7 separate regions of the Homo sapiens genome follow, and regions 1, 2, 3, 4, 6 and 7 are each linked to region 5. Evidence: promoter capture Hi-C in 16 types of primary human blood cells and fetal thymus (Javierre and others, 2016). All regions are on one chromosome and are shown on one strand. Each heading gives the region's core, a stretch centred on a gene start or on the middle of the fragment in contact. The rest is flanking DNA. Distances are from core to core; before and after follow the strand shown.

Evidence for each region. Contacts are between HindIII fragments. The CHiCAGO score rates a contact against its expected background, and 5 or more counts as called.
Region 1: a contact is called between a fragment that was not itself captured here and the fragment with the promoter of MEF2C-AS2 in region 5, in 7 of 17 cell types (naive B cells, monocytes, neutrophils and 4 more). The highest score is 14.5, in naive B cells.
Region 2: a fragment that was not itself captured here is called in contact with the fragment with the promoter of MEF2C-AS2 in region 5 in 1 of 17 cell types (M0 macrophages); the score reaches 5.1 in M0 macrophages.
Region 3: a fragment that was not itself captured here is called in contact with the fragment with the promoter of MEF2C-AS2 in region 5 in 1 of 17 cell types (neutrophils); the score reaches 10.8 in neutrophils.
Region 4: a contact is called between a fragment that was not itself captured here and the fragment with the promoter of MEF2C-AS2 in region 5, in 4 of 17 cell types (monocytes, neutrophils, naive B cells and 1 more). The highest score is 7.6, in monocytes.
Region 6: a contact is called between a fragment that was not itself captured here and the fragment with the promoter of MEF2C-AS2 in region 5, in 1 of 17 cell types (neutrophils). The highest score is 7.2, in neutrophils.
Region 7: a contact is called between a fragment that was not itself captured here and the fragment with the promoter of MEF2C-AS2 in region 5, in 1 of 17 cell types (neutrophils). The highest score is 11.8, in neutrophils.

The regions. Positions count from the first base shown.
Region 1 is chr5:90,268,940-90,271,639 of GRCh38, forward strand. All of the region lies in intron 1 of LINC01339 (long intergenic non-protein coding RNA 1339), which reads right to left. Among named protein-coding and RNA genes, the nearest start is that of LINC01339, 20 kb to the right of the region's middle. The HindIII fragment of the contact is 8,813 bases long and covers 1-2,700 here.
Region 2 is chr5:90,248,245-90,250,944 of GRCh38, forward strand. The region is part of intron 3 of LINC01339 (long intergenic non-protein coding RNA 1339); the gene reads right to left. Among named protein-coding and RNA genes, the nearest start is that of LINC01339, 40 kb to the right of the region's middle. The HindIII fragment of the contact is 541 bases long and covers 1,174-1,714 here.
Region 3 is chr5:90,285,868-90,288,567 of GRCh38, forward strand. All of the region lies in intron 1 of LINC01339 (long intergenic non-protein coding RNA 1339), which reads right to left. Among named protein-coding and RNA genes, the nearest start is that of LINC01339, 2.9 kb to the right of the region's middle. The HindIII fragment of the contact is 6,899 bases long and covers 1-2,700 here.
Region 4 is chr5:90,170,561-90,173,260 of GRCh38, forward strand. All of the region lies in intron 4 of LINC01339 (long intergenic non-protein coding RNA 1339), which reads right to left. Among named protein-coding and RNA genes, the nearest start is that of LINC01339, 120 kb to the right of the region's middle. The HindIII fragment of the contact is 1,184 bases long and covers 752-1,935 here.
Region 5 is chr5:88,674,833-88,677,532 of GRCh38, forward strand. It overlaps MEF2C-AS2 (MEF2C antisense RNA 2), which reads left to right and starts at 1,386. Exons shown (of 4, transcript NR_146284.1): 1 at 1,386-1,431. All of the region lies in intron 1 of MIR9-2HG (MIR9-2 host gene), which reads right to left. RefSeq lists enhancers at 358-457, 895-1,460. The HindIII fragment of the contact is 5,913 bases long and covers 1,274-2,700 here.
Region 6 is chr5:90,106,414-90,109,113 of GRCh38, forward strand. No RefSeq gene overlaps it. Among named protein-coding and RNA genes, the nearest start is that of MIR3660, 91 kb to the left of the region's middle. The HindIII fragment of the contact is 7,922 bases long and covers 1-2,700 here.
Region 7 is chr5:90,225,198-90,227,897 of GRCh38, forward strand. The region is part of intron 3 of LINC01339 (long intergenic non-protein coding RNA 1339); the gene reads right to left. Among named protein-coding and RNA genes, the nearest start is that of LINC01339, 64 kb to the right of the region's middle. The HindIII fragment of the contact is 1,737 bases long and covers 551-2,287 here.

The DNA of each region.
Region 1 (2,700 bases), core at 30-2,529, 1.6 Mb after region 5:
GAGGTTACCTGACAAAAAAAAACGTAATATTAATGTAAACAGCTAAAAACTAACCTCCTGTGAATACTAAAGCAAATAAATTATAATCTATTATTTCAGGTTTTCTGTTCTACAACTGCATTTTTATTTATACCTTTTCATTTCAAATGTATGTGCATAAAGTATTTTTATCCCTCAGTAAAAATAAAGCTAGATATTTTCTGGTAAACAGGTAAAACAGCAACTCTGTTTTACCTGTTTCTAAAATCTTCTCTCTGATGTTTTCATCACGGGTATCTTACATAGACTCTAGAAATGCAAAGGCAATACAAATGGTACGTAAGAACCTCCATTAATCTTTGTTTCAAGGAGAATGTGAACATTCTCTGTACAATTTAATATTCCGTGTCCACCCACAAAATTCTACAGAGAAGTGTGTGTGTGTGTGTGTGTGTGTGTGTGTGTGTGTGAGAGAGAGAGAGAGAGAGGGAGAGAATCGGTAAGTTTGATTTTAGTAGGAAATTAGTAAAATATGCATATTACAAATAAAGAGAGTACAAGTCCCCATCTGCCATTTATAGTAAGATTTTATATTTCAGAGCTTAATAATGAACCTCCCTGGGGAAAATTTAATAAAGCAGGTTCCCTGGTATTGCCAGCAGTTGGGTTTTTCTGCATCTCTTATTTTCTTACTCCCCAGGGGGAAAAAAATCTCAGTAAGATTTGTGAGCCTGTATCGAAGATAAATCTAGTGTAGTCTGGACTATACACCACCCAAACTGATCCAGATCTCCCACCCAACCCACTGTTCGTTACTGTTTATAAAGTGCAACATGCCCTGTGAAATGATAGGTTGGAGCATTCTCTATCTGTCCTTACCACAAGAAGTACAAAACCAGTTTAGAGTAACTGGAAATTGCAGTTTCAAATTTAAAGAAACACCAGTTATGTATAGGGTGGGTTAGGGATGGGGGTAGTTCTTAACTGTTCTTTTCTCCTACAGAACACTGAGCGTCTAAAACATGTTCAATCCTGTTAATGCTTGTCAAAAATTTCACAGTTCAGCTTTGTTCAGATTTTTTACTGACTATGAAAAATCAATTTGGTGGGATTCAGATTCATAAAGATGGAAGAGCTGCAAGAGACCTTAAATAACCTTGTTCTACCAAGTCTATAGGTAAAAACTGAGTCCCAAGGAAATTAAGGGACTTGCTCAAGGTTTCACATGTCCAGATTGGAACTCAAGTCTGCAGGCGTCCAGTCTATCATCCTTCCCACTGCTCATTTCATCTATTATTATACTTTAGTAATTAAACAATTTAGAGAAGCTATACAATGTGATTTCACAATTAACATAAAGCAGTCATATTATATCCAGGGTTGTGTAGAATTTCATCTGTGCAAAATTTCACTTGGTATTTAGTCATTACACTCAAATAGTATCATTATCTTTCAATTACAGAGATCAATTTTAGTTCATTAGCAAAATAAAATGCTTGCAGAAGGTCCACACAAATTCTTCAAAGCTGCAATCTTCTAAATGTCAGAATTGAAACACATTTTATAAAAAAAAACAAAATGTGACAAAAGTACTTGAGGTTAAACCACAGCTGTGCAAGACTCAGTGCCCTGCGTGATCATAAATCTGCTAAAAAGGCATAATTCAAAGTTCTGTAAAGGAAAATGTGTGCCATTGCCAACTAATAATATTGCCATTTTCCCCATTTCTTGGATTTTGCAGCTTTTCAAGAAAGATTTGGGTCATAGGATATTGTGACACAAATAAAGTATTATGAGTACAGATTCAACCTAAGATGACCTAGAGGCTGCATAAAGGGAAGATTAGATTAATGTTTAAGCCTTGCAAGAGGATTACTATCTATAGGCAAAAACAATGGCCCAAACAATATAGCTATTAGAAATGATGGTAACCTTATCAGGCTTTCTAAACTGAGAGCCTTAATTGCTATCCAGACAAACCCCAGTCAGCTAAACAGAGCTACCAGCAAAGGGGCAATATTATCAAGTTTAAGTTGATGCTAATATCCTTTTGATAAATCTGTGTTGATATAACTTGGGAGAAGTTATTTACAAAATATATATAAAGTTGTTGCTCCTTAATATGTTTAATTATTGTGAGGTTATCATACTAGAGTTTCTAAGATTATATCGATATTTCAGGTTTAACTTGTTAGAATATGTAAACCAAAACTACAGCCTTTGTTTTTCCAACATATTTTTATACTGTTGTACTTTTTTCTAAAGAAGGAAGTGATGATTTGCTCATACTATGATGTGGCCACACTGATATCACAGCTAATGATCCTTGTGGCACAAATTAAGTTTGCAATAAATGAGATTCTTTTTCTACTAATATGATCAGAAATTTAATACCCAAAAAGATGAAAGGTTTTCAATTTTACCTTTGTACATAACCCTTTTCAACATAAGTAAACTCTTCATAAATTTTGTTATGAAATTTAAATAATACATAGTCTTCTTTGTGATTACTTGTTTCATGGAACCCAAACCCTAAAATTCTCAATTACTAGAAATTCAAGAAGTTTATCATGTTAAACAGTTTACTAATACAGTAGAAAGATTAGAAATATCATTTTGTGCCATACCAACCAAGGGTAGTGGTATTCAGCGAGCCTGGATGGTAAGTAAAGCAGGCAAGCAAGTAAATAGAAATTAGGGGTGCACTGAGAGTTGTCCCAT
Region 2 (2,700 bases), core at 194-2,693, 1.6 Mb after region 5:
GCTGATTATCCCTCTAAAATTCCAAGTGATATATTTCTTCTGTCTTGAATTTTCCACTTTTATATTTCTATTCTGCCTTCTACACTGCCACCTGAGTCTTCCAACCTTCTTTCTTGGTCACTAAATCTCAACTCAAGGAGCCTCTAAATCATTCACCTATTTCCTGATTTTTTGCCTCTTCCTACAAAAACACCTGTAAATATCAGCCCACATAAATTTCTGTTGAATTTTATTGTGTCAGATGCTTCCAGGAAAAAAAATATGCTTTTGCATAATCTTGAATTTTTGTGTGATTTGGCAAAGTTTTTACCTTCTTTTTGGCTTATTATACTAATATGTATATTGAGGTTAATTAAAAAATTAACTTCACAGAGTTGTGAGCATGAAATGAACTAACATAGGTTAAGCACTTAAAAGAGTGTTCATACACAGTAAGCACTATGTATTATTACCATTACACACAATTTTAGAAGTTATATTTTACTATATTTTAGTTCAATGTTTAAGTGCAATAATTTTAACTATACTTAGCAAAACACACTAATTCCCACTTAATTAGAAAATGTGCTGATTATACAAATATAAATATACACTATAAAATTCTAGAGAGCCCCAGGAGACACAAAGAATCTGGCCTATTTCCAAATGGAATCTGCTTCAACACAGCAGCCTTGCTGAGGCAGTCAAACGCAGTCACTAAGTATTAGACTAGGTAGACTCTGTGCTGGCTCCATTGACATTCACTGGAGTTTTGGCCCAACTAAGGTAGCATGAACCCTCCAATTTGGTGGCATCATCTGAAGTTCACTCCAGACTACAGGATGTGAAAAGCCATTTACTGTGCTTTCTGGAAATTTCAATCTCATGGGAAAATGATTTATTATCTAGGGAGTTATTCTGTGCATGCCATATTATTGTCGACTTTAAAGTCCACAGAAGGTAAGAAATCACTTTAAGGTCTTACCTGCATTAAAATTAACCAGGGTGCTTCACTTTTTTCTCTATCTCTCAAAGCTGTGTTTTAAATAGACAAGGGGGTGGTAAGGATACAGAAAATAAACTGAATTTATTTACTGTTCACAATAAACTGAACAGTCATGAACCTCATTTTACTAAAGCCACTGGCAAACTTCCTTAGTAATTGCCCACCCAACATCTCTTTCTTGACTGATAAGCTTATCCACTTTTGCAAATGTCCTAAATAGAATTCTCACTGTATGGCTGAGGTCCCTACATCATGTACAACACTTCATTCTGAGATTCTCAGAAAAGGAGCAGGTATGTCCCAAGCCCAGCTAAGACTGGCTGTGAACGTGGACACAGAGTGTGGAATGAAAAATACTGGAGACTCAGAGGGGTGAGGGGGGAAGGAGAATGTGGTGATGAGAAATTACTTAATGTGTACAATGTACATTATTTGGGTGATGGATACACAAAAAGCTCAAACTTCACCACTACACAATATATTCATGGAGCAAATTTGCATTTATACCCCTTACATTTATATAAATTCATATTTCCTTCTTATACCTTATATACATATAAATACATATTATATATAATATATGTATTATATAAATATATATATTATATATATATATATGGTATAAGAAGGAAATATGAACTCTGCAAAAGCAACAAGACATACATCCCCAGAAGAGAGATGGTTTAAGGAGGTGCTGTATCTCATGTTCCCAGTATGGGCACTGGGAGAAGCTTGGCCTTCAGCCGGGGCAGAGGATGAGAGGAAGAGGTATGGATTATTAACAACAGTAGAGTGACTAAGAAAGAGGTATTGGGAGCCACACAACAGTCATGGCTTTGGATAGCTGTCAGATAGGAGAAAGATGGTTTCTTGAGCTTTTGGAAAGGAAAGTTAGGCTTAAGCAGTAGAACAAAAAAGCATAAGGATTTAAAACACAATGAAGAAAAAATCTGTTCTTACATCCACCCTTCCTTTTTCTGTCGTCTCTTCCCTCTCAAGGCCTATTCTTACCCCTTACTCCAATAAGTCTTCTCTCTTTCTTACTATATCTCTTTTCCCTCAATGTCTCAATGTTTCTTATTTCTTCACTGGACATGATATACAATTGTATTTTTGTATGATTTATGACATTTATATGTATGTTTCTCAGAAAATATATTAAGCTGCTTGAGGGGTTTTTTTTGGGGGGGGGGTTAAGTCTTTTCTTTCTCTCTTTTTTTTTCTTGGCTGATGATTATTGGTTCCCCATAGAAAAAAAAAGTTACCCACCACTCTGAGTAGTTCCTTTGCTAAAGCAGTAAATTGTATGACATAATCACCAATGTTTTAAAAGGACATGCAATTTATCCGAAGAAGTTAGTTGATTGAAGATGTGAATTAATGTACAGAAAATTAGTCTTTTGGATGGTTCACTCAATCAGAGAGAGTTACAAAGTTGTAGAGGCAAAATGATTTCATTGACAAGTCAAAGATATTATCTCCATTTCTTCTAACTGGTTATTTTTTAAGAGAAAAAAAACTGATTTTGATCACACACGTACGTATGGGAGTTCACAAAAAAATGTAACTCAAAGGAGCAGTTAGAATTGGAACTTAAATACTATCTTATTAGATGAAGAAGGAGAGGGATAAGGGAATTATGGGAAAACAAATGACTCTTATGAAATCGAAATAGAGACTAGATTGGAAGATATGATAGTTTTTGTGATTGTGTC
Region 3 (2,700 bases), core at 52-2,551, 1.6 Mb after region 5:
AGGATTAAAGAAAGAAAATAAGATAACCTTGGTAAGGAACATAGTACACTGCCTGGCACAAACCAAAGCTATTTGTAAGTGTTCCCTATTCTTATTATCATCATATTCATTACCATGTCTACTTGCTCATACATTAGCCATTTCAACTTTTCTGCCATCTTACCAAGTCAGGTCAGGCCACTATTGTTCCTCACATGGATCACTCCAATAGCTTGCTTTCAAACTCATTCTCTACACTGAATTCTTCCCTTCCCACATGAAAGCATTTAATGATTCCACCTCTGGTTAGTTGTGTATAATTTTGGCTTTGAATATGGTTCATTGTGTACAATGCTTATAAGGTTAAAAGCCAGACATTATTTATACCAGTCAAAATACATAGAAAATACCGTCATTACCACCCAAGATAGTGATAGAGATGGCTTAAATATTATGCGCTTAAAATGCCAGGTAAAATTAAAATATCATCCAGAGTAATTATAACTTTAACTAAGGAGTCACCTGTCAGGTAGGATCTCCAAAATACCAAAAACTATATTGAGTGGGGAAGGTGAGGCTGCATCTGCTCAGTGGAAGATCTAGGGAGAGCTAGAAATACCAGCTGGAGCCTCTGATCACTTTAAAGTACAGCCTTCAGTAAAACCTCTCCAGAGTGAAGTTCCGTTGACAGTCATAGCTCTCTGCTCCCGCCAACCAAGTCTAGAGCACCGGCCCAACTAGGACCCCAACTTCCTCATCAACAGTGTAAGAAGTGAAGCTGGGAGAGCCACATAAGCAATAGAATTTCTAATTAACAGCGGGGCACGGTGGCTTACGCCTGTCATCTAATCACTTTGGGAGGCCGAGGTGGGCGGATCACTTGAGATTAGGAGTTCAAGACCAGCCTGGCCAATATGGTGAAACCCCCTTTCTATTAAAAATACCAAAATTAGCCAGGTGTGGTGGCACACACCTATAATTCCAGCTACTCAAGAGAGTGAGGCGGGAGAAGAGCTTGAACCGGGGAGGTGGAGGTTGCAGTGAGCCAAGATCATGCCACTGCACTCCAGCCTGGGTGACAGATCGAGATTCTGTCTCAAAAAAAAAAAAAAAGAATTTTTAATTAAAGACCCAAAAAGTCTTCTCTTTTTATTTTGAACTTAGTCCTGGCTAGCCTGTAGGTAAATACCTACCATAATAAAGGAACTTAAATGGCATAGTCTGCAAAACCAAGAGAAGTACAAACATAATAGAGTCACCTTCTAAATAAAACCCTTCTAATGATTCACATTGCCTTAAGATAAAATCACTCCATGTAGAGCTTTTTATGATTTATTATCTATACCCTCTGAAATTCCTCCAACCTCATCTCTCATTACAACCCACACTCACTCAACACTCCAAACTTAACCACAGCTTTTGAAATCCCTTGAGTGGACTATGCACCAGCTCATCTTTGGGTCTTAGGATATAGGCTACTCTATCTGCCTAGAATTTCTTCCCTCCCTGCTACCAATTCATTCTTCAGGACTCAGCTGAGAAATTATCTTCCATGGCCGGGCACAGTGGCTCATGCCTGTAATCCCAGCACTTTGGGAGACCAAGGTGGGCGGATCAACTGGGGTCGGGATTTCAATGACAGTCTGACCAACATGGAGAAACCCCGTCTCTACTAAAAATACAAAATTAGCCGGGCATGGTGGCGCATGCCTGTAATCACAGCTACTCGGGAGGCTGAGGCAGGAGAATCACTTGAAGCCAGGAGGCAGAGGTTGCAGTGAGCCTAGATTGTGCCATTGCACTCTAGCTTGGGCAACAAGAGCGAAACTCTGTCTCAAAAAAAAAAAAAATTATCTTCCGAAAGATGCCTGTCCTAAATACCCTATCCTGGGTTTTGTGTCTCTCCTAAATGTTCCCACAGCACCCTGTATCTATGCTTAGTAAACCACTGCCTGTTTTTGCACTCCACACAACCACACTAGATTGTGACCTGCCTGAAAGAAAATACAGTGATGTCTTCATTCATCTCTTTTTTCTTTTTTGTTTTAAATAATTTCAACTTTCATTTTAAATTCATGGGATACAAGTGCAGACTTGTTACATGGGTATATTACATGACACTAAGGTTTGGAGTACAGATGATCTTGTCACCCAGTAGTGAACATAGTACCCTACAGGTAGTTTTTTACCCCATACCCTTCACACACTCTCCCTCAACCCCAGTAGTCCCCAGTATCTGTTGTTTCCATCTTTATGTCCATGTGTGCTCAATGTTTAGCTCCCACTAAATAAGAACATGCTGTCCCTGTGATTTTTGCTTAGAATAATGGCCTCCAGCCTGGATCCATATTGCTGCAAAGGACGTAATTTTATCTTTTTATGACTATGTAATATTCCATGGGGTGTATGTATGGCATTTTGTTTATGCAATCCACCATCATTGGGCACTTAGGTGCTATTGTGAATAGCACTGGGATGAACATACAAGTGTGTATGTCTTTTTTGTAGAACAATTGATTTTCCTTTGAGTATATACCCAGTAATGGGATGGCTGGGTCGAATGGTAGTTGTATTTTAAATTCTTTGAGAAATCTCCAAACTGCCTTTCACAGTGGCTGAACTGATTTAAATTCCCATCAATAGTGTATGAACATTCCCTTTTCTCCACAGTCTCAGCAGCATCTGTTATTTTTTGATTTTTTAATAATAGCCATTCTGACT
Region 4 (2,700 bases), core at 94-2,593, 1.5 Mb after region 5:
ATCAGCTGAGGATTGCTGATTTACCATCCCAGAATGACGATTTAGAACCTAGTGCCAGGATTGCTGCCAAGTTGAGAACAAGGATTTCATGTAGAAGAGAGCCCACTTGGTACTTTATATTAATGCCAATTGAAATATGCATGAATAGACCAGAGGCAAAGCGGTTGTTCAGAATCAGACTATCAGTGAATGCTTCTTAGGTTCTTTTTTTTTTCTTTTTGGTCCTAGAGCTAGGATTTTGATGCTGAATAATTTTAATTGACCAGAGACAACAGACACAAACTGGCTGAAAATGCTGCATGGTAGAAACTTAAACAGACACCCAAATAGAATTGTCATTTTAAATAGACACCTCTGTAAATCTGTACTTAATCTCTCTCATATGTATTCAGTATTTCGTGATGTTTCAGCAAGTATTCATCTTGCTTGTCTTTTTCTTTGCCTCAGTTCTCTCATCTGAAATACCTAACTAATGCTTTGGAGCAGCAATGTTAATTGAGGACTGTGAAGAATAAAAATTCGGTAACAGCAATGGATGCTCAGCTACAGACTACATTTCTCAGCCTCTCTTGTAGCTAGGTGTACTCATATGACGAAGTTTGGTCTCACAGGATGTGAGTGGAAAGGATGTGTACAACTTCCAATGCACCTTTATGCAGATGGTTTGCCTTGAATTTTCTCTGTCCCCCTGTTGATGGCTAAGAAGTGATGATAATTTTAGCAACCTTGGGTAAACAACCTTGGGTGATAAAGCTTTCCTGACAGCCTTGGATCATTCATCTATATACTCTTCCATGAGAGAAATAAACTTCAATCACTGTTAACACACTGTGGATGAGGGCTACTTTGTTAAGCTGTACCTCAACTAATAAAAGCAAAGGGAGCATCAATAAGTTGCATCTACTCTTGTGCCCAGAATTTTGTGTATATCTTTTGCATCGTTCAGTTCATTAGTAAACCAAACTGAAAGTAACTTTAACTTTGGCTAATCCTTATTTTTGCCAATTCTTGAACTAAACTTGTCTTTAATATCAAACTTAGTTCATGGGCTCTGTTCTGCAAAATAAGGAAGATGAGGCTGTTGAAGTTGCAAAATCCAGTGGTTTAAGGTTCTGAACTTTACTATGACTGGAAGTAGACCAATCTGAAATATGTTTCTGGCATTGTATCCAAAGAAGTACATCTGTAAATGCTGTTTCTATAATTTCCCAGATAGAAAAGTTTTGATACATGTATTTTCCTTATATAATAGTTTCTTTGCAATATTTTAAATTCCTATCTGTCCACTGGCTTCTTCCTTTGGACCCTTAGTCACTCAAAGGTCTATTTGAATTTATAATATCTCTTAACTGGATTCTTCTGTTCCTCTGATAAGATTTGTTTTATGCATCACTTTCCCTACCCAAATTTCTCAGTGTGGTCTAGGACAACTGTTTCTATGCCTATATTCTCATTCTCTCCTTAAATCCCTAAACCTGTGTCTGCTTCATCCCAATCTACTACAATTTCACTTAAAAGATAATCACTCTATTTTCCCATTTCTTATGTTCCTAGACTATTTACACACTCAGCAAACATTTATTGAGCCTCATCCATGTGTCATGAAATAGGCAGATTAGAATACAAAGCACAGTGCTTGAAGATCTTCACAGTTTTATAACATTGGACCGTTTTAAAGAATCTCCTTGAACTTCTTATGATTTCCATGGAAACACACCATTCTTCTTCTCATCCTACTGTTCTGATTATTTCATTCTTTTTCTGGGCTGATCCGCTTTCAATACCCCTTAATAGAGGTTTCCTCCAATGCTCAGTACCAGGTCCTCTGCTCTGCCTTTGTACTCTCTCCTTTTGAAATAGCATCAGTTGTTCCAGCTTCACTGACTGTCTTTTGTAAGTGATTTTCATTTGTCTCTGGGCATAAACTTCCACCCAAGCTTCAGTTTCATTGTCCCAATTACACTTTATTGCCTCAACCCATGAAATCCCAACATGTTTAAAACTAAACAAATTTCTTTACCTTACATATACTCCCATTCCTATGCCTCATCTAATATATTCCTCTGACATATTCTCCTACATACATGTACATCAACTTTCTTGTCTTGCTCTCTCTTTCTGGGTTAACCAAGCCTGCCTGGACAATAGTAAAAACAGAAGTTCCAATCCAAGCAATCTATTTCCTTGTCTGCTTTAATTCAGGCCAACTCACTCATAGTAGCAGGCAAACAGGCATTTACCTTCCCTCAGAGCATGGTGTCTTTTATGCAGTGCCAAATAAGTGGGGGAACAAATGAAGAAATGTCAATAAGCAATTACATATGTACTAACAACGTTAACCTGACAAGTATTTGAGGAAGAAGTAATATGCTTAGTCTCCAAAGAGTTCTCAAATATTCAGGCTTGGATAAAAATATTTATAACAGAAAAGCAACAACAAAAATCCCTCTAATTTTTGTTCTCTCATTTTCTACACTCATGATGTTGAACAGACTTTCCTCAGGATGGCCCTATAGCACCGTCTACCCCAGAACCAAATCAGAGAAGTACTCCTGGTTCCTTCCATTTCCACTGTACTTTAAAATGGGAAGCTACGTTTCCTTTCCTTTCCTTAGCTATGGTTGATATTAAACCTACCCGTCTATTATCCTCTTATTTTTGGTTCTACTTTTTTGGCAGAGACCTATTTTTCTTGGATTA
Region 5 (2,700 bases), core at 136-2,635:
CCTCCGGCCCAGAAGAGGCCGAGGACCATTTCTTAGCTGCCCCAGAGGAGGGGGCGAGCAGAGGAGGGGGCGGATGTGCACAGGGAGGTGCCAGCGGTCCGGTGCGCGGGCACGCACACGCCGGCGCGCAGGGCTGCCGCGGGCGGAAGGAGGGGAATGACAAGGCCTCGGCCGCGTCTCGGAGAGGCACTACCTCCGCGCTGAGGCCGCTGAGTTTCAAGTGCAAAACACCAGGCCAAATCCGGCAAGGCGGCGGCTACAGAATGGCTCACACTTCAAGCCTCCTTCCTCAAACAATCCGATGGGAAGGACCTGGCTGTTCAGGGGAAGCCTTTGCTGGCCTCTCTTTTTACATGGGGTGAAGTCGAACCCCAATCTAGGAGCCCTGGCCTAGATGGCTCCGCAGATGAGTCCCAGACGTGGCCATGGAAAGACTGATCTCTCTCTGCTCAGAGCGCCTGCCTCGGTGCTCACTAGCGCAAGCACCTCCCAACACACATACATACATACACACACACACACAACACAGCACTCCCATCACATTAAAACGCGCGCTCATGATCCTGCCGTTAATGAAGCCGAGGCGCATAATGAGTGCACAGGTAAATAGGTACCGAAACCAGAAGACTTCACCAGTCGGCTGGGCGATTTACCTCTCCCTACAGGGAGCACTTGTAGTTATCGTGTTTTAGGAGTGATTTGCTGTTGTCTGTGGTCTCTCGCTCCTCTTCTTGTGGAGAGAAGCCAAAAAATATATATGTTCCGTGGTCAGAGTCTTCTTTCTGATAAGCTACCCGAGCATTGGTCTAAAACATCTGTTTTATCTGTTGATTTTGGTTTGTTGTTTTGGGGAGTGTTGCTTTTCTGAGGGAAGCAAAAGAACGTGTGTGTGGTGGGGCTGGAAGCTCAGGGCAAGAGTCTGCGTGTGCGGCCGGAAGGCTGGCGAGTCTGAGAGCCGCGCGGTGCAGAAAGAAGGCGGCGGCTTGTCCTCCCCCGGGGCCGGCACTGGTCCCTTGGCACCCCGGCCTGGGCTCGGCTACTGCCGCCGCCGCCCGCGCTCTCGGGCTCCGCCGGCTGCCGCTCCGTGTTTTCCCCCATCCCGGCTTCACGTTCAAGGTTTAGCTGCGAGGTCACGTCCATTGACGTCAGCTCCCTGTCTCCCTCTACGTCCGGCTACATTTACATACATCAAGGAAATTAGGGCATTAAAAAAATATGCAAATCCTGCGCGAAGAGGAGCGGGTGCATTCCTGGCGCGATCGCCTTTTATTGAAGCTTTTAATTAAAGGGGCCAGTTGGCGAGCCCCTGAAACAACCGCCAAAACCCCCCAAAAGAGAAAAATAAACGCTGTAGCCTTCGAGAACGGTTGTTTCGGCTCCTGTTCTGTGGGCGGCTGAGGACCGCCGGCTGCCCGGCTCGGAGAAGAACAGGTTAGAGGAGGCAGCTCCAGCCCATGCATAATCAGGGCTCCGCGGCGCCTCCATTCTTTCCTCCTCCTCCTCCTCCTCCTCCTCCTCCTCCTCCTCCTCCTCCTCCTCCTCCTCCTCCTCCTCCTCTTCCACCTCTCCTCCTCCTCCTCCTTCTCCTCCACCTCCTCCTCCTCTTCTTGCTCTCGCTCCTGTTGGTTCCAGCGTGTATTATTTTTAATACTGATGCATATGTAAAGGTATATTTGCATTTTTTAATTTGCGAGAATTTCAGATTTTGTCATTTTATTGGTTCCCTTTCCCTCTTTTTTTTTTTGGAGGATTTTTATTGTTGTTATTTTATTATGTCTATGTGTCTCTCTTGTCCCTTTCTGTCTTTTTTGGCGAGTGTCTGCTGCTGTCTCTTGCTAGATAATATACACAGTTACCTCCCTGCTTCTGTTTATTTAAGGTTACAAATATGCACATCTGTCATGTATGCAATGCCAGCTGTATAACCTCCTGGTTTGGTCATAAAGGAAAATACACATTTTTTTTTCTTTCTTGACATACCTTGATGGGCTGTAGTGCCCATCGCTCAAGGCTCAAAGTTTGATTGTCTAATTAACTTCATATTAGCAGAAACACAGTTCGGGGCCAGTGCTTTCGAGATAATGTATGTATAAGTGAAGTGATTCCAAAGATTTCTAAATAATTTTTGTGCTGATTGCCTGAGAGGTGCGGCATTCCCCGCCCTATTGCTTTCTAGCATTTCTTATTGAAAAAAATATATATATTTTAAAATGGGTAGACACAGCAATGGACAGCCTTCTGCAAGGAAGACATTTTCAACCATGTTGTATGTTGTACCTTATTGGCTGCATTCAAAATTTACTGAGTTTCATTTTTATCTTAATATGGCTGGAAACAAGGCACATTATCTTGACTGAAAAGCATCCTTGATTCCTGACTTTGAAATGAAAGCAAATACACAAATAAAACAATTGGCTATATTAAACCAGTTGATGTGGCTTAAAATATACAGGCCTTGAGTTAGATTTCAAGCAATGGTAATCTTGTTTATAGGATCGGATTCTCTTTCTTGGCAATATAGCTATGCAGCACGATGGCTTTTTTCCACCTTTTAATTCCCCCAAGCTATCATTTAAAAAAGACTCAATCTATAATTGCAAACCCTGAAAGAACAGCAAGTATGCACACATGCAGCTTATTCAATTAAACAAGTCCAAGTACATGCACAGGTAATTAGTTTTCTTATGAATGACTTACCTG
Region 6 (2,700 bases), core at 180-2,679, 1.4 Mb after region 5:
AGAAAAGTTACATTTGAATGCACTAGGCTGTAGTGTCTCAACTCTTTTTTTCCCCCGCATTGTATTCCACATATCAGATGATGCTTATATAAGCTACACAATTCCATGGAAAAAGTTTGTTCAAAAAACAGGTTTCAAAAAAGGAAAAGAAAAGAAAAATCAGAAAAATATTGTTTTTTTTTATGTTAACATAGAATTCAAAAAAGTGTTTTTAAAGCATGAGAATTAAATCATATTTTTAAAGATCTCAAAAATTATTCTTAAAAAGAAATAAATGTGGCTAATATTGTCTTTAGTATGAAACATTTCTTAAATATGAATTTTGAACTTTCTAGAATTCAACAAATATCAATGTTAGTAATTATAATACTAAAGGATATTTGTAAATAAATATTTTTATTACAATATATAGAATGTACAGGCTGTAACCTCTTTTTATATAAAGAGCATCATTCTTCTCAATAAGACAAATATGTATTTAATATTGTAAGCACCCTTGCTTTATCTAGTCTCATCTTCTTTTCATTAAAAACTTATTCATGGATAAAATTTAAAAGACAATGGAGGTAACTGTTACGTCAAAATTTACAACTGCTACAAAACTGCCTTAAGCACACACTGTTAACCTTGTGGTAATAGTGACCACTCACTAGAGGGTACTGAATCCGTGTAGTTCTACCTATACATTCAAGCTCTACCTATAACTTCTGTTGCTCCTCTCAAAACATGTCAGAATGTACCTGAATGCAAGAGATTTCACTGTGGGAATAACACTGAATCCTTTTAGATAGATGAAAAGTTGTCATTCCTGAAGGTATACTTTGACTATTATTAGTAATAGTGTACTTGCTGCCCTGCTCAAAGATACAGATATTGTGGTAGCTGCCTCAGTTGAGAGCATTGTCACGAAACTGTTAGCTCCTTGACTTTCCAGTATTGGGTCCTATTCATGTCTCCACCAGCATGTGGTACAAGTAGGGCACATTGTCAGCATTCAATAATTGTGGGTGAAACTCAACTCCACTCCATTAGGTGAACCTACCATTGAAGAATGGTCTCCCTTAGTTAATTGCAAATGAATCCTGCCAAACACAATTTCTTCCTCCAGACTGGCTGTCAGCACTTTTAATCCATAGAAAAGTAAGCATGCTTACAAAGGAAAAAAACAAAAACAAAACAAAACAAAACAAAAAAAAAACAGCTTACTTTCATAAAGTTTTGGAATGATTCATAAATTTTTTATAAATATGTGATATTTTGGTCTTCTGCATTTTGTCTTGTCTTTATCGAGATTTCATCAATGCAGAGAGAGTGAGGTGGTTGCTTACATTTGAAAGTTTTGTGTTTGTAAATGTGTATGTGTTAGAAAAAGCATTGTCTAAAAATGTCTCTGGAAGAAATCCAGTAATAGAAAGATGTTGATTCTATGTGAACAATGACATGACAGGTACATCTTAAAATGTGAAATTCACAATTTAAATCCTGATTCTTGAGGAAGAGATTTTGTTTCCAACCACGGTATCCCAACTTCTCACAATTAAGATTTCCAAAATAACTTTTTAAACCTCTGGAATTTTAATAAATGGGCCCTTATTCTTCAATCCTTTTTCCCATTCAAGAAACAAAATTTTCAAATCCCTTCTCTATCTCAGTTGAATGCCTACAATAGTCAATACATAATATTAATTCACCAAATGTTTTAAAAACTATTTTAAATGTTTACAAAACTTTGCGAAATGAATAAAGCTACTTTTTCTTTTTTAAAACACATATTTTACCTTAGTGAAAGTATGTAAAACACCCCAAAGGGAGCAGCAGCTATTAGATCACACTGAGATAGTTATGTCCAAAAGTAGTATGACTTTTTTCCCCCTTTTTTGGCACAACTGAGTTGGAATGACTATTAAATTATGATAAAATAAGGTAACATTTTATAAAATTCCCAATTTCATACAAAGCAGCATTTCCTAAACTTCCACAATCTCAATTGCATATTAAATTTCAATGTCAGTACCAGGTTAATTTTCTAAAAACACTCTTTAGAAAAGAGGTTTATTGAATGTCTTTTATGTGTTCAGCATTATGCTAAGCAATTTTCATATATTATCTAATTTAATTCTCACACTATAAGATAAATACCATTAAAGTCCTAATTTTACAGCAGAGAAAAGGAGGTTTGGAGAGATTAAGAGATTTATCCAAGGTAACACAGCTGTTGCATGGTAGAACTATATTTTAAACACAGGCCATTTTAACTTCAAAACCCAAACTACTAACCATCTTGCACTCCTCTGCAAAAAAAAAAATCAGTTTGGGTTTCCTGTTACTTATTGGACAAAGAAAGAGCTTATAAAATCTCAAAGTTAGAATCAATTTTGTTGATCCTTTTGTTCCCTATAAGTTTCCTCCCTCTTCTCTGATGGATCTAAGACTAGTGTAGATACTAAAGTGCTAAGGTTGATGGGGGCAAGAATAGTGTCTTACTTCTGACTGTTACTCCTCATCACACAGGACTTTGCCTTTTACACAATAAAAGAGCAATTGATGTTTGATTCACATTCTTTTTTCTACTTTTCAGAGTAAGGCCTTTTACAGTATAAGCCATATCTGAGCTTATTCAAGGTTGTGTCTTAGTCAAGAAATACAGTTTTATGGATCACCGAATATATGCTTTTCTGATTTTCTCATTCAAGAAATTTT
Region 7 (2,700 bases), core at 169-2,668, 1.6 Mb after region 5:
CCTTCCTTGCTTCCATGATGGACATTTTCTCATACATCAGCTCCTCATATCCACGACTGTGTGTAAGAAATGCTCTTGTGGCTCGGCACTGTCCCAAAAGACCAACACAAGCCAGGCCAGCCAACTAGCTTCTCCTCCAAGGAGAGGCATTCAACACCTCCCTTCATCTCATGCGTTCATTCAGGAATAGCTTTTGCACAGAAGGCACTAACCAGATCCTTTGAGTCCAAAGTGAGCAGGTGATCTCATGATGTCAGGTTTGTTTGTTTTTTTTTTCCAGACAGACAGACAAATTAGTGCCCAAATTCTGGCTCTTCCGTTTGTTAATTGTCTGGTCATAATCAAATATTTAGACTTTTCCACATCACTCTCTTCTGTAAAATGTAGATAAGGTTTGCTTTATAAGGTTATTTTGAGAATAAGAAAAGAAACAAGAAGCATTCATTCATCCAATAAATATTAGTATTTGTTGAGTACCTACTGTGTGTCAGAAATTTTCCTAAACATTAAGAAAAAAGGTAATGTAAATAACCATCTGGTTCGTGGTAGAAGCTTACTATAAAAAGATTTCCACTCCTGTCCTTCTTTTTATGACTGTGAACATTGTCTATTGTAAATGAACAACAAATTTAGTTATCATTATTTCTCTTTTTTGTGTTTCTTTGTTTTATAGAAAGCATAAGAGAAAAAATCTTTATAGATTGCATTTATACACTGAAATTATTAGGGCTTATTCCTATGAGAAAACTCAGGTGGCTTTTTTTTAAATAAGTATGTCTCAAATATTCATTATTGATCTGAAAAACACATAAGAGAAAAATATCTCAGATGTGCTACTGGGTGTGATCAAGATAGCTGTCAGTGAGTAAATATACTCTCTACTGCATCCATTTTAAATAATAGTATACATGGCAAATACCTTTGACATTCTTAGTATGTCAAAGATTTTTGTAGGCATGAAACTAACATTTTACATATGCGGATGGAAAGGTTAAATCATTTTCCCAGTCACTAATCCATCAGTGACATAATTACCAACCAAACCTTAGGCTTCTGGTTCCCTGGTCCTCCTGCCTCCTTTTCTCCTTCAAAAAACATTCACCCACAATGATATCTACTTGCCTTTTACTCTAATTTTAAGAAAGTACACTGGAAAAAAAAGTATTACTAACATTTTCCTTCAAATCAAATTAATCAGAAAATAAAATTAAAGCACATTTATTTAGCAGAAAGCTACTCTTTCCATTAATGAGAATTTTATTAAATATAATAAAACATTTCAGGCAATTTCTTTCTTCCTGGTTTTTTTTTTCCTCTTCCTTTTTCAGATTTATTGAAAAGCATTTTTATTAGTGCAATAATAGGCTCCGGGACATGCAATTATATTGAGATGCTGACACTTTCCTGTTAGTTGCAGCCTTTGGCCTGAGGCCAAACACTGAACCCAAGCATATGAGTTTCTCTGCAAGCAGCCCTGGCATGGCACTCGCATGCATTTGTCCTTACAGCAACCTCCAGTTTTCAACCACTACAGAGAGAATTAACTAATTTTTCCCTCCTATTACAACTGATCCAAAGAGATACTTCCATCTCTTTTTAGAGAAACCCAAAAGTTCCTTATGAAATTTTTGTAGAATGCAGAGTTAGAGACAGATTAGAAACTTTCAACTTCTGTTTCATATGGGGAAATACCATAAAGGGTTTCATTACTTTATGAGGCATTTACACACATGAAATGCAAATGCTTGTGCCTTTGTCATGAGTTTTCTTTATAGCTTTCACTCCTGTATATTTTTTAATTGTAAATCCTCCCCTTTCCAAGCTCTGAGCCAAAGCATTTCAGAATAAAACTGTAGATATCAACTATAAATAAAATACAGATTCAAACCTCTGCAACTTTTTAAAATTTGTAAGGCAGGAATAAACCATCCTTTAAAAAGGAAAAAAGAAGCCACCAGAAAATGCTTCTGAATTCACTCCCACTTTCTATGTAAAGGCACTGAGTTTCAATCTTTAAGGAGTTAAATCTCTTATCTGGATTCAGTGCCATGGAACTTCCCCACATATCCCAGTCTCTTTCATAAAGCATTGTATACGTTATTAGAATACCCATGTAAAACCTTAAAAACTTTGTTTTTAAGTTACATACACACCATACATACACACACACACACATACACACACACACAACTAAACTACGCCCTCTAAAAATGCTTCCGGCCTGACTGTGAACAAAAACAAAGGGGTCTCTGCTACCCCTAGCTCTGCCCTGTGACTGTTCCAGCAAAGCTTGGTAGTGTTTTAGGCATCACTTCCTCAGCAGGGAAGTGGAGTTTAGAGATATTAATCCTTGTGAACTGAATTTGGTGTGAGAAACTCCTGGGGGAAATCCCAAACACTTGTGCTGCCTTTGAACTACAGTCCCCCAACACTGACTATATCTCCCCTTCCTTTCCTGCCCCCTAGGATCATCCTTGCTTTCCTGGGCCCATTTCAGTCTTATTGGTTTGGAATCTGGACTGCAGCGTTTTCTTTTCCAAGTCCTGGCTGGGCTCCTTGGAAGCAGAGTGCCCCCACCCAGCCATAAAGATTATTGTGAGCACTTTGAAACTGATGCCAAACCAAATCAAGCCCAGTGGACACAGTCCCTTGCACACTGACTGGATTCCTGCACGCCCTCCTTTGGGTTGGCCCTACAGC